2 separate regions of the Homo sapiens genome follow, and region 1 is linked to region 2. The links are contacts of gene promoters, found by promoter capture Hi-C in blood cells and fetal thymus (Javierre and others, 2016). All regions are on one chromosome and are shown on one strand. Each heading gives the region's core, a stretch centred on a gene start or on the middle of the fragment in contact. The rest is flanking DNA. Distances are from core to core; before and after follow the strand shown.

Region 1 (3,963 bases), core at 1,086-3,585, 110 kb after region 2:
TACTAAAAGCTGTGCTCAGCCTCAGCCTCATGGCTGTAGTCTGTGAATCAGTAAATGCCTCAATAAGAAAATCCAGAAGAAATATTAGACTCACTTCTGTGCACTTTCCCTCTAATAGGGATTCACTCACTCAAGTCTCAGCTGTCTTGGTGACTCCTGGTGCCCTCAAATAGAGATTTTGTTTGTTAAACCAGGTTTCCTAACTTTTCTCAGCTAGATGGCCAGTCTGATGTCAGCCAATTCCCCACACACAAAAGCAGAACTTGACAGAGAGTTTTATACAGCATAAGAAAAAGGTAGCATAATGGAATCGTTTTCAGAGGTCAAAATTACTCTTCGATAATTTCTCCAAAAACATTTATTATTTCAGCCCATTTTTATGAAGGATCTTCCCTATTCCAGGCATTATTTTAGGCCCTCAGAGACTGAGTGGTGAACAAGACAACCACACTTCCTGCCCACATGAAGCTTACCTTTGAAGAATGGGAGCTGAGCACAGCAAAGAAAATGAGCATGAAAAGTTAGGAGACTTGGCACAGAAATACTGATGATGGGCCACGCACGGTGGCTTACGCCTGTAGTCCCAGCAATTTGGGAGGCCAAGGCAGGAGGATCACTTGAGCCCAGGAGTTCAAGACCAGCTGGGCAACATAGCAAGACTCTGGTCTCTACAAAAAAAATTTTTTTTTACAAAAAGAAATATTGATAATGGGACTTGAATTATCTATGATTGAAGCGTATCATAAAGCTATGGCCTGAAAGAGCAGAACCAAATCCATAGCCCAAAATGGACCAGTTCAAAACTTTTCTATCCTGTCTGAAACCCAGTCCTATCCCCAGCGTTCCCACATGCAAGTCTGAGTGGACCTCGGGGAAGGCCGCGGGGAGCGGCATGGCCTCTCTTTCCTTGCTCCCCTTCTCCCTGTTTTGGGCTCTAATTTCTTCAGTGATGGGGACGGGGGAAGGAATGTGCAGGGCCACCACTGTGGGGCTCACTGGCCACTGCTGCACCTTCTCTCCGGCTGCTCCAGTGATCCTGTGCTTCTACCAGCTGCTTCTGCCTCTTCAGTGAGGACCCACTTTAGAGACACCCCCAGGGACAGTAGCTGGAGGACTCTCTCCCTGGGACACCACACTTTGCGTAAGACTGAAGGGCCACCCCTGCCTCCACAGCCTCCTTCTTACAACCTGGGCAGCACTGGTGGGGTGTGGCAGCTGGCCATAGCTGGTCAACTTCTGTCTTATTTTAGAAACCCTGTGGGGACAGGTCTGACCCAGAATGTTAGCATTATTTTTAGAATGAGAGGCCGTTTCCAGCTTTGCCAGATTCACAGCAACAAAGACGTTCTACTCAACATCGTGTAATACGTCTTACTTTATAATGAAATATGCGTATGTGTACTTGAATTTTTAAATAAAAATGTGAAATCACAATCAATATTATAATTAGCTGCTGGGTAGCAATGTTCCTGGAAAGTGATCAGGGCCATTTTATAAGGCAAGAAGCTCGGGACTTCATCATGCCCTGTGGTGATAACAATTCATCATCAAAGATCATGCAGCCGTGAGAGTTGCCTGTGGCTGACCTGGGGGTGTGTGATGGGGCCTGTGGGCAGGGCTGGTGAGAAAAAGATGCTTGCAGTGCAGGGCACACGGAGGAGATGGCTCCAGCAGTGGCGAGGGCTGGCGGCTGCCTGCTGCCTAGCACAGCTACTTCACGGGTTCAGAACCCGAAACCACAGCCCACGATGCTGCCATTGTGCCTCAGCAAGGAGTGGGCTGAGCCCACGATCCCTGCCCTGGAACAGAGTCCTGCTGCCTCCCAAGCAAAGGACAGGGTGGGCAATGAACAGAGGGCAGGAGGCACAGAGGCCATGGGGATTAGAAATTGGCGAGTCCTGTGTCCTACAGCAGGGGAAGGACCATACTAGAGGAGGAGTTTGCACCACAGGAAATAATTCCTAAGGGCCGGCTTCCTGCAGAGGAAGCCCGTGTCCTGAGGCTGCTGGGGCCAGTGGCTGGACGATGCCCCAGCAACCAAAGATGGCCCCAGGCACATCCCACCCACATCCCACCCACCAGACGCCCACAGCCGTCCTTGCCTCCAGAACCCAGCTGGGATCAGGCCCACCCCAACTCCTGCCCCTGAGGTTCCACATGCAACAGACTATAGCCCAGGTGTGACAGGAGATTTGTGAGCTGGGCAATGTCACCAGCAAACAAACATCCCTAATCATGGCAGACGCCGCCTCTCAGCAACAAGGAAGGGGAAGCTGTGGGCCCTGGAACAACAAGGCCAGGAGGGGTATAAAAGCCTGAGAGCCCCAAGAACCTCACACACTCACAAACTCACTCACTGACACACTCACACACTCACTTACACCTCCCCCAGCTCACCTCCTCCCCACCCCAGCATGGCCGCGTCCACCATGTCCATCCGCTCCAGCGCTTACTCCGACTCCTGGCAGGTGGACGACTGCCCAGAGAGCTGCTGTGAGCCCCCCTGCTGCGCCACCAGCTGCTGCGCCCCGGCCCCCTGCCTGACCCTGGTCTGCACCCCAGTGAGCCGTGTATCCAGCCCCTGCTGCCAGGTGACCTGTGAGCCCAGCCCCTGCCAATCAGGCTGCACCAGCTCCTGCACGCCCTCGTGCTGCCAGCAGTCTAGCTGCCAGCCGGCTTACTGCACCTCCTCCCCCTGCCAGCAGGCCTGCTGCGTGCCCGTCTGCTGCAAGCCTGTGTGCTGCGTGCCCGTCTGCTGTGGGGCTTCTTCGTGCTGCCAACAGTCTAGCTACCAGCCAGCTTGCTGTGCCTCTTCCTCCTGCCAGCCGGCCTGCTGTGTGCCCGTCTGCTGCAAACCTGTGTGCTGTGCGCCCACCTGCTCTGAGGATTCCTATTCATGCTGCCAACAGTCTAGCTGCCAGCCAGCTTGCTGCACTTCCTCCCCCTGCCAGCAGTCCTACTGTGTGCCTGTCTGCTGTAAGCCTGTCTGCTGCAAACCCATCTGCTGTGTGCCTGTCTGCTCTGGGGCTTCCTCTTTGTGCTGCCAGCAGTCTGGCTGCCAGCCGGCTTGCTGCACCACCTCCTGCTGCAGACCCTCCTCCTCTGTGTCCCTCCTCTGCCGCCCTGTGTGCAGGCCCGCCTGCTGCGTGCCCGTCTCCTCCTGCTGTGCCCCCACCTCCTCCCGCCAGCCCAGCTATTGCCGCCAGGCCTCCTGTGTGTCCCTTCTCTGCCGCCCTGTGTGCTCCCGCCCGGCCTGCTACAGCTTCTCCTCAGGCCAGAAGTCCAGCTGCTGACGGTCATGTCCCCCAGGGCCAGCCGGGCTCAGGCCCCACCTCCCTGCCAGTCCTTGGACCTCCCAGCCCACCCAGCCTCAGCACAGCTCAACACAGAAGGAGCAGCCCCAGCCACAGCCGCCCAGCCCCGGGGTCTCAGATGCTCACTGGCTCCTCCCTGACCTCCCCCCCGGGCAGGCGAGCCCTGGCTTCTCCTCACGGTGCTTCCTGGCTGCAGACCACAACCCTCCGCTGGTCGCTGGTTGGGGACGGGCCCTCCTGACCCGGGTCTCACCCCCAGCAGCGTCACCCTCTGCCCCTGAGCACCAATAAAGCGTCTGCGGCCCCAGCTGACTCCGTGCTGACTCTCCGCACCCAGGGCGGGAGGGGGCAGAGTGGGGCCTGGCCTGGCTCTGGGGGGCTGGGCCCCGTGGATCTCTTTACTTCCCCAGCTGGGGGGCCTCGGGGGGCTCTTGTGTGACACCTGGAAGCTCCTGTCCACCTCGTGGCACGTTCTGCTGTCCGGCTCCCCTCCCAGGTCCTGTGGGGCCCAAAAGCCTTGTTCACTGGCTGAGTCCCACAGACACCACGTGACTCAGGCTAATGCCCCACTCACTGTGGGTAGAAGCAGCTCCTTCCCATGGCAAGGGTTGGGGCTGTCCCGGGGGGTGGCAGGCCCCAGCTGTGCTGG
Region 2 (4,255 bases), core at 970-3,469:
TGTGTGCACAGCTCCTCAAACCCCACCTGCACCCCACACCCCCGCAGACCCCTCCAGAAAGGGCGCCTCTCTATGGCACACACCCACTTTCAAAGCATCTCGGCTTCACCCGCTTCAAAGCTCACGTTCATGAAAGACATTGCAAAACTCAAACCAAACAGTAAACAAATTAAGACATCTCTAGGACCTAAAAGGATTTCAACACAATGTGAGAAATGTTGGCAAAACATGAAAGTGGGCTTTGTGAGTTTTGAGGAATTACTGAGTTTTGAAAGATGAGGCTCAGGCCAGGTGGAGAGGAAGCCCGTCCATGTGTGCGTGGTCCCAGCGCCTTCCCAGGGCCCTCCTAAGGCACCTTCAGGGCCTGGGCCATGATGGCGCCCCCAGCAGCCAGGTCCCCGTTCCCGGAGTTCTGGTTCTGCTTTGGGAGCTGCAGCCGTGCTTCCTTCTGTCTGCTGTGGTCCTGCTCTAGCCCCTGCTCTTCTCTGATGTTTCTTTCAGGCGGATGTCACCCACCCCTTGGGACTTCGCCATGGGTCGCTAGCCCAGACCCTCCCCTTGGTTCCGGTGGTTCCATTTCTGCCCCTTTGCTGCTGGCCCCCTTCTGAGGATGCCCGTGCATCTCCAGGACCACTGCTCCAGTCCTTGGTGTAGATCAAAGCTGGCCTTCACACGCGGCCTGAAAATGTAGAGTGGCCGCCTTCTGGGCTGGGCTGCCACCTCCACCACATCACCCGTGACAGAAGCCCCGTGTTTTTCGGTAACCACGTTCCACGAACACCTCCCGACTGCCTTCCAGAACACACAAAGATCAACGAAGCTCAGAATCCAGTCCCGACGTCATTTCATGAAGAGCAGGTAGTCCATCAAAGGGATGGGCCCCATGAGTGAAGGGCTGAGACCCCACCATGGTGTGAGGCGTCCCAGGCACTCCCGTCACGGCCCAAACCAGGCTGCAGGCTCCATCCCCATGGGGCAGGCACAGAGGAGGCGATTCATGTGGACACAGGGACACCTGTGGACGCCCTGGCTCGGCCGCTTACCGCCGTGTGTTTGTGGCCAGGTCCCTGCTCCTGAGCCTCAGTTTCCACACCTGTGAGATGGGTCTGAGGTGGAATCGCCAACCAGCTGAGGATGCGCAGCCACAGACCACCTTCCAGAAATCTCCAAAAGGCTTTCCAAAACAGGAAAACAAGGAAGGCTGCCATCAGCAGGAATTCCAGGGCTTTCAGAATGAGGCTGTCAGGAGTGAAGGGAGCTGTGCTCCACATGCAGGGCAGTGGCCAGGGCTGCCAGGCCTTGTTTATCTGGGAGCGCCAGGCTGCCTGCCTGCACCTGGTCTGGGCACCTGAAGGCAGAGCTGCTCCTGCTTAGGGTCTGTGGCAACTGTCCTCCTCAGTGGGTGCTGCTGGGAGCTCCTCTGATTCCTGGTGGGCGGCTTCTGGCCTCGCCTCTTCACCCACGGTGTAGGGTGTGGGATGGAGATGCAGGGCCTCTGCTCTCCTTCTCCCCTCCCCCAAGCAGCCTGGGTTGTACCTCCACTAATAAACACCAACACCCGCGCCCAGGGTGGGTTCGGCCACGGGGCGATTCTCTGAGTGACACATCAGGATCAGCTTCGTGTGGTCCTGACCTTACGGTAATGTCAGCCCCCAGAGCCAGGGGCCGGGCTATGGCACCACCCACCCAGGCGATTTCTATGTCGGGATGACCAACTGTGCCATCCCTGGGGCAGTCCCCCATGCCAGGCAAACATTCTCCTTTCATGCTTAAAATCACAGGACGGGTTCACCTGCTTCGTCCTTGGACCTGTGATCTATGTACGCTGCTTTTCAACAAGTTTCTAGTTGTCCCCTCCTGGGTATGGCCCTCCCCTCCTTCCTTCCCAGAGGAAGAAAACACACCAGCTCTGCATGCGAGAACGCTCCCAGCTCTCCCATCTTCCCATCGCAGGAGCCCCTCGCTCCTGCACCCTGGGGCTTTCGGTCCTGTCCCACCTCAGCGGCTGCTGCACAGGAAGGCCGTCCTGGCCTGGCCCCTGTGTCTCTGCCTTCCTCGACTCCTGCAGTCTGTGCTTCTGTCACTCCTTCAGCACGCCATCCCTGGACACACTTTGTGCTCCGTGGACTCCACAGCCCCCAAACCCCCTCTTATGCCCTCCCTGACCCCAGACCATCTGGGCTGGCTTCTCTCTAGGACACATACCAGTTCTCATTCCAGAACTTTCCTTATGGTCATCTTTGGGTGGAGCCACCACTTCCAGTTCTGATCTTCTCATTCTGGTTGAGTACCTGGGCTTGCCAGTGCACCCCCCAGGAACACCGCCTAGTCCAGGGCTCCCACAGGTCTCAGACTGACAGGAGACTGGGTCATATGACCAGCACTAGCCAATGAGCTGTGAGTACACGTGACACAGGGACAAGCTGGGTCATGTGACTGGCACTAGCCAATGAGCTGTGAGGACGTGAGCACAGGTCCAGCTAGGCTGGGTCATATGACAAGCATTAGCCAATGAGCTGTGAGGACACGTGAGTACAGGTCCAGCTAGGCTGGGACATGTGACTGGCACTGGCCCATGGGCTGTGAGCACAGGTCAGGTCAGCCCCTTCCTGCTGCTTCCCACCGTGTGTGCTCCTTGTCTGACTTGATATGAGAACTAACCCAATATGGCAGGAAGCCACTGACATGTGGGAGCCGTGCATGGCAGTGGCCAGCGTCCTTGTCCTGCGGGGGCTCTGTGGACATCACTCGCCTTCAGAACACTGAGCCCTCCTACCTCCTGATATCCAGGGCTGCCGATGGGAAATCCCAGGCTGCCGCGGCTCCTGTGTGCTTTGAAGGTAACTTTCCTTTGCTCTCGCGCTCCTTGGGCTCAGCGCCCTTTCAGTCTGATGAGATCTGGGCGGTTTTCTTCAAGCCTTCTCTGACAATTCCATCACTGTCCTCACCCTCTTCTTTTTTTTCTAGAACTTTGGTTAGCCAGATACAGACTCTCCTGGTTTGATTCTGTCTCTTTTCATTCTACATTCTAGAAGATACTCTTAACTTTATATTTCAGTCATGTTAATGAATGTCTTCTTTTAATGCCAGCAATTGCATTTTTAATGTCCAAGCTCTCTGTCTCATTAGTAGCATTTTTTATTTCGTAAGTGCAGTATCATCTTGAATACTTCTGAAGACAAGTATAACTTAAAAAAATTCCTTTCTGTTTCTAGAGCTAGCTCAGTTTCTTTCAGCCTTTTTCTTTAGCCTGACTCCTGCAGTTTTCAGGATTTTTGTCAAACATCCGGGGACCCTTAGCTGGAGAGGATGGCATGGGTGACACGCAGCTGGCCAGGTACGCTCTGGGGCACTGGGGCATCTTGAGCACCTTGGTGCAGTGTCGTGAAGAAGACACTGTAAATTGGACTTGGTGTTATCACAGGGGCTTTAGGATCACGGTGTTGGTAGATCTAGGATGATAATCTCCAAAACGCACTCCCCAACCCACTGCAGGGATCCTTTCTCTTGTCACCTCACTTTGTGATTTAGAATGCAGGACCTCCAGGACAGCAGCCTCTCCGTGGCACAACAGCTGTTAGGAGACCTTGCCTAGTTGACGAGAAAGTCACTTGTGGTGCCTTTCCATCCAGGGTGCGCGACTCTGCTCTCAAGACCCCCTGGAGGCCCGCCCCCTGCCCCCCACCAGCTCATTCGTTAGATGATTGGAAGTGACTGCCTACGTCTTCTTTCAGGATAAAGCCTCAAGTCCTGCAACTATTCCTTGTGTGATAACGTTTCAAATCCCTTCCTGGTTCTGGCAAAGCTCCTCAAACATGCTCCAGTGTGCTGGGGCTCTGCATGTGTGAGCCTGGGGCCAGCAGGGCGCACGTTCATGTCAGGGCACCAGTATGATCCTGATGACACATGACTGGTGTGGAGCCCCGGGTGTTTCCACGGGAACTGCTGTCGGCCGGATTGCTGTGCTCTGCAGCTGTGCCCAAGTCCCCAAGCCACCCTTTCGTTGCTGCTCGATGTCACCATTTGCTTTTGTTGTTTTTTTTTTGTTTTTGAGATGGAGTCTCACTCTGTCGCCCAGGCTGGAGTGCAGTGGCGTGATCTCGGCTCACTGCAAGCTCCGCCTCCCGGGTTCACGCCATTCTCCTGCCTCAGCCTCCCGAGTAGCTGGGATTACAGGTACCCGCCACCATGCCAGGCTAATTTTTTTTTGTATTTTTAGTAGAGACAGGGTTTCACCGTGTTCACCAGGATGGTC

Evidence for each region. The method cuts DNA at HindIII sites, captures the fragments that hold promoters and counts their contacts. A CHiCAGO score of 5 or more calls a contact.
Region 1: a contact is called between the fragment with the promoter of KRTAP10-9 here and the fragment with the promoter of TSPEAR-AS2 in region 2, in 6 of 17 cell types (naive CD8 T cells, naive CD4 T cells, total CD8 T cells and 3 more). The highest score is 7.8, in naive CD8 T cells.

Annotation. Positions count from the first base shown.
Region 1 is chr21:44,624,758-44,628,720 of GRCh38, forward strand. It overlaps KRTAP10-9 (keratin associated protein 10-9), which reads left to right and starts at 2,336. Exons shown (of 1, transcript NM_198690.3): 1 at 2,336-3,621. The coding sequence starts at 2,415. The coding sequence ends at 3,293. All of the region lies in intron 1 of TSPEAR (thrombospondin type laminin G domain and EAR repeats), which reads right to left. RefSeq lists an enhancer at 1,261-1,956. The HindIII fragment of the contact is 20,057 bases long and covers 467-3,963 here.
Region 2 is chr21:44,514,996-44,519,250 of GRCh38, forward strand. It overlaps TSPEAR-AS2 (TSPEAR antisense RNA 2), which reads left to right and starts at 2,220. Exons shown (of 2, transcript NR_026548.1): 1 at 2,220-2,840; 2 at 3,633-3,982. All of the region lies in intron 9 of TSPEAR (thrombospondin type laminin G domain and EAR repeats), which reads right to left. It overlaps TSPEAR-AS1 (TSPEAR antisense RNA 1), which reads left to right. Exons shown (of 7, transcript NR_103707.1): 7 at 502-1,580. The HindIII fragment of the contact is 11,587 bases long and covers 1-4,255 here.